Regions from separate parts of the Homo sapiens genome. Here region 1 is linked to region 2. Evidence: promoter capture Hi-C in 16 types of primary human blood cells and fetal thymus (Javierre and others, 2016). All regions are on one chromosome and are shown on one strand. Each heading gives the region's core, a stretch centred on a gene start or on the middle of the fragment in contact. The rest is flanking DNA. Distances are from core to core; before and after follow the strand shown.

Region 1 (2,700 bases), core at 69-2,568, 330 kb after region 2:
TCCTAGGAACCCTCACCCAGAATGAAATGATATTTAAGCGGCTGCACCTGGGCACCGTGTCCTATGGCGCCGACACGATGGATGAGATCCAGAGCCATGTCAGGGACTCCTACTCACAGGTAAGTGGGTTCCTCCTGCACGGGGTCTGCTTCCACACACATCCCGCGCCATGAGTCCAGCTGAGCCTCGTGTGTTCCCATCTGTAAATTAGCACGCTTCTTGGTGGTCTTAACATCCTGCTACTTCAGTCGTCTGTTCGAATATACGAATCAGGAAATCGTCTTTGATGAGCATTTGTACATGAGTGAAATCGTAGAAGGCATAGTGTGCTGAAGTCATTTATTCATATCACATTTTACTAGTGAGTTATTTGTAAAAAATTATTCAGTAAACATTGTAGTTGAAGAATGTTCAGTAGGATACTACATCAATATGTTTTCTAACAGTTCTGTTTTTCTCTATAATAAAATGTTCTCATATTTTTAAAGGTAAATTCTTTTTTTGCCTTTTCGGTAGATAAAAGTAGACACCATCGTGTTGGGAATCTCGTATCTGTCATTCACCTACCTGTCATCAGTGCCCAGGTGGTGATGTTTCATCTGTAGGTGTTCTTCATTATTATTATATTATGACATGAAGCTCAAATATCACATTCTTTCATCTGTAAATATGTATTATGTGCCCCTAATTGATAAGGACTCTGCCTTTCGTTGGGGCCAAAGCTCCCTAAAGTTCTGAGAACAGGAATTAGAGGTTGAGTATCCCTTATTCAAAATGCTTAGGACCAGAAATATGTTGGATTCTGGATTTTTTTAGATTTGGAATATTTGCATTATCCTTACTGGTTGAACACCTCTAATCGCTTATCTGAACATCCCTTTGAGCATCAATGGCGTTCAAAAAGCTTCAAGTTTTAGAACATTTCCAATTTTAGATTTTTGGATCAGGGATACTCAACCTGTATTTGCTTTTAAAACAGGATTTAGCCTAGAGGCTGTACCACTTGCCAGAGATTTTGCAGGCAGTGGGTTGTGTATAGAGTCTGTCCATGGACCCAAGTCATCCTAACAGCCTCATTCCTGCTGTAGGCACCTCAGAGCCACCACACTGAGCACAGCCCTGGCCCTGAGGAGTGTTTCCTTGTCATTCATTTGCATTTTTTTGTGCCTGTCATAATTTGAAGTCATTGATTCAGTTTGATCAGACCTGGAGATCTGAGAGAATCAATTTAAGAGACTAGCAGACAAGGCTGCAGTGTGCGTCACAAATTTACACCTTCTGAGGCCCTTTTTCTGCCTGTTTGTTGATTTATTCTGAATATAGTGATCCACATAATAATGAGCTAAGGCCTATCAGGTTCAAAATTGTACATAGCTCACCCTGGGGGGTGTGACAGTTCCCAGCGCTGCACGGCACTGCTCCCCGGACTTGCAGAGGCCACCCTTCAAAAGTGTACACAGCCCACCCTGGGAGGTGACAGTTCCCAGCGCTGCATGGCACTGCTGCCCAGACTTGCAGAGGCCACCTGGCGACGTCAGCTGTGGAGTCTAGGAGACTTTTTGTATTTACAGTAATTTGTTTCAAACTTGATTTTCGCAGAGACTAGACTAAATGACACTTTCCCATTGCTGCGTTTCTACTCTTGACAACTCCAGAGTAGCATTCAGTGGTCAGCATTGTATTCAGTTTTTTGAAAACCTTCTCTTTCTTGTATACTTGCTACCAGTCTGGCATAAGCTTTACTGTCGGCATGCTGTCAAATGGAAGAAGTCTCATATGTGTATATATTTAGCATATGGAATGTTTATCCACACACATAAGCAAACAAACATACGTACACAGCCAAACACTTTATTATTTTGGATGTAATTCATTTAGATACGGAATATTTGTAACCTAGGATATTTATTAATAGAAGAAAAATCTTAAAAGGAGAAGGAATACAGTTTCTCCCAGGAATCTATTTCTGCGTTGAAATAGTACCAGATGAGCTCTGCTTTTTAAAAAAAAAAAATTATCTATGAATGTAATTTTAATAGCTTCAAATAAGTTATTAGGAAAAAATTAAAAGCAGAAAAGATGAAGCATCATTATATAAACACAGTAAATGTTTATTGTGCTTCCACCTAAGAGGACTTTTAAAATCATTTTTGCTGAAAGCTTCTGTTAGTTGAACAGACAGTACTTCTTATGTGAAATTGATCTGATTCTCTATCGGTATTCTGTTTTATTACTAAGATGACAGGAGTCTAGTAGGTCCACTGCCGTGCAACACAGATCTTTTATAACCTGATTGTATTTCCCCACTGGAGGCATTTGGTGATAGAGGGCATAATCTTTCATGGAATTTGTGTGAAATTAAATTGTACAAGCATCACTAAACATCACGTAGTTTGGAAGGAGGGAGCCAGCTGAGTTTGCTGTCTCGCAGCAGCGTGAGCAGGCGCAGATGGGCTGGGTCCTCACTGAAAGGCAGCACCAGCTGAGCAGAAAGTTAAACCCTTCATTAGACAGCACTGTAATTTGATGGGCAGGAGATTCACAGTTCATTGGATCTGTTCACCCAGTCCAAGCGTGAGAGCCTTGGTTTCCAAGGAGGATTGTCATGAGTTACTCCGAAGTTAACTGAAGAAACGTTTGACATCCTGTTGGGGTTGGGGGGAGTGTCCTCTGACACCCTCCGCCACGTAGGAGGTGAAT
Region 2 (2,700 bases), core at 116-2,615:
TCAAACTTACACAATTAAAGGCAGGCGGAAGAACGCGGGCTGGGAAGCAAGCGGGAAGATTCTAGAATGGAAGGGAGCCCGCCGAGCGCCGCGAGCCGCGCCAGGCCGGGTCCGATGGAGCAGGCGGGGATTCCTCCCCCAGGCGGACCCCCGCCACCAGCCCTGCCGGGAGCTCGCGGCCTGCGGAGCGCCCGGGCTGGCCGCTCACCGCCCGCTTCCCCCAGCGAACGACTCGGGGAAGCTCCAGGAGGCCATCTGTGCTGACGGTTCACACCAGACAGGACCACTTGCAAGGACAAAAATAAGAAATTTAGGAAACGAAAAAAGACGTACTGGGGCGAGGGGCGCGGGCGCGGCGACGACGGGGCCGGGGGCACATCCTGGCGGCCGCTCGGGGAGAGAGGACACGCGCGGGAAGGAGCGCGGCGGGTGCACGGCCGCGGGTGGGAGTACGCGCCTGTGCGCGCGGGGCGAGGGCGAGGGCGCGTGCGTGTGACCGCGGGGAGGGGGCGGGCGCGTGTGCGGGGAGCGCGCCGCGCCAGGGGCCGAGTGTGTGGGGCCGATCCAGAAGTGCGCAGCCCCCTCACCTGGCCCCCGTGTCATCCCCGAAATCCCGGGAAAGGGTGGGCCGCGCGCGGGAGTTTGGTGGAGTTGGAACTTTCGGTCGCGCTCGCTGCCCACTCCGCTGGCGCCCGGTGGCCCGTGGTGAAGGGGGACTAGGGTGGGGAACACCGGGGCCCTGCGGTCCCCTCCCTTTCCTGTATTTAAGAAGCCGCCGGCGGCGCAGAGGCCCAGGCGGGCTGGCGCGGGGGCGAGGCGGCCCGGTGGCAGCAGCGGGCGGGGCGGGCGCTCCGGAGTCGGTGGGGCCCGCGGGTTGGGGGGCGGGGAGAGGGGGGAGTGGAAGGGAGGGGGAACGCAGGGGAGGGAGAGGAGGGGAGGAGCCGCGCGGCCCGCGCCGCTTCCGAACCGGAAAGTTGGTCTTGCCGAAGTCCTGCCACCCCGGCGTGCGCACTCCGCTCCGCTCCGGCCGCGAGCCTCCGAGCCCGGCCGGCCGCCGGGGGAAGCCCGCGGAGGGGACGCGGGGCCGGGCGAGAAGGTCCGGAGAGCGGGGGGCACCTGAGCCCGGGCGGGCCCGCCGCGCTGAGCGGCGCTGAGAGCCGCGGCGGAGCAGCGAAGGCGGCCGGCCGACCCCGCGCGCCCGGAACAGGAGGCGCGGCGCCCGAGCGGCCCGGGCGAGACAAAGGCGCCGGGTCGGAGCCCTGCCCGCGGCCGCTCGCTCCGGGAGGGGCCGCCCGGCGGCGGCGGCGGGGGGGGCGCGGGCGGCGGCGCAGACACTCTATAAAGGGGCGAGCCCGGCGCGCCGGCGGAGACGGCGCCGCGCGGACGCCGCCAAAGTTTGCTGCCTGCGCCCTGCGGAGGGACGGCCACCGCGGCCCGCGCCGCACCCGGGCCCCGCCACAGCCGCACCCGGGGCGGCCGAGGAGCGCGGCGCCGGAGCCCGCGATGTGAGGCGGCGCCGGGCAGCGCGCGCCCCGGTCCCGAGGCGCCGCGGCCCCCTCCTCGTCGGCGCGGCCGCTAATTGCGAGCGCGGCCTCATTTGCATAGGCCGCCGGAGTCCGCTGGAGCCCGGCCAATCGGCGCGGCCCTCCGCTAATGGCCATGCATTATTCACCAGCCTAATTGCTCAGCCCCATGCGCGGCCCGCGCAGCCGCCGCCGCCCCGCGCCCCGCGCCGCGCGCCCGCCAGGCCGCCCCGCGCCGTCCCCGCCGGCCGCCCCGCTGATGCCGCTGCCCCGCGCGGGGCCCGAGCGCCGCTAGCAGCATGTCTCGGCGCAAGCAGGCCAAGCCCCAGCACCTCAAGTCGGACGAGGAGCTGCTGCCGCCTGACGGGGCTCCCGAGCACGGTGAGGGCCGGGGCTGCGGGGTGGCCGGGGGGTCTGGGGCTGCCCGTCCGGGCTGGGGAAGCGCGTGCGGCGGGAGCGGATGCGCGCGTCCGGGAGCGGGAGAAAGTTCCCTGCTTCCTGCGGGCAAGCGTCCGCCCCGCGCCAGGCCGGCCGCGGGGCCCCGGGTACTTCGCCGGAGCGCGCGCGGCCGCCGAGAGAGTTGTGGGCGAAGTAAACTTGGCTCCTCTCCTCGGAGTCGGGGAGCTGCCCGCGAAGGGCGCCGAGGCCGCGGCCGGCTCGAGGACGGCTCGGAGGCCGGGGCGGGAGGGAGTCCACGGTGCCTCCGCCGCCGCGCCGCCCCCCAGGGTCTCTGCGCCAGGACGCTGAGGCCGGCGGCGGCGGGGAAGGCGACCGCAGCCCACCTACCGCTGGACGCGGGTTGGGGACCCCGCCGCCCGGCCAGCTTTGTTCGGGGGCCCGCGGCCCCTCCCGGGCCCCCGCACCGCCTCGGGTGACCCGCGGTGTCCCAGCGCGTTGACGCAGCCTGTGATCCCTCGCGAGGCGAGGAGAAGGTCGGGGGCTTGGCTCTGCCTAATGGCCGCCCGGGGAATTAAGCTGGGGGTGAGCGCAGCGGCGGCGGCCTGGGCCTGGCCCCTGCTCGCGGCGTGTTTCCGGGGCGTTCGTTGCAGCGTCTGCGCGGGCCTTTTCTCTCCCGTCTTTTTGGATCCGCCGAGGCCGGGCGCTGGAGACCTCGGCTTTGCAGTCATTTCGCTGGTAGGAGCGTCCTCTTCGAAACATCCAAGAGCAAAGGGCAGGC

Evidence for each region. The method cuts DNA at HindIII sites, captures the fragments that hold promoters and counts their contacts. A CHiCAGO score of 5 or more calls a contact.
Region 1: a contact is called between a fragment that was not itself captured here and the fragment with the promoter of SALL3 in region 2, in 1 of 17 cell types (M2 macrophages). The highest score is 5.9, in M2 macrophages.

What each region holds. Positions count from the first base shown.
Region 1 is chr18:79,303,598-79,306,297 of GRCh38, forward strand. ATP9B (ATPase phospholipid transporting 9B (putative)) reads left to right here. Exons shown (of 30, transcript NM_198531.5): 14 at 7-119. Among named protein-coding and RNA genes, the nearest start is that of NFATC1, 91 kb to the right of the region's middle. The HindIII fragment of the contact is 833 bases long and covers 903-1,735 here.
Region 2 is chr18:78,978,453-78,981,152 of GRCh38, forward strand. It overlaps SALL3 (spalt like transcription factor 3), which reads left to right and starts at 1,366. Exons shown (of 3, transcript NM_171999.4): 1 at 1,366-1,904. The coding sequence starts at 1,823. LINC01896 (long intergenic non-protein coding RNA 1896) reads right to left here and starts at 1,239. Exons shown (of 5, transcript NR_187297.1): 1 at 588-1,239; 2 at 11-286. The HindIII fragment of the contact is 14,735 bases long and covers 1-2,700 here.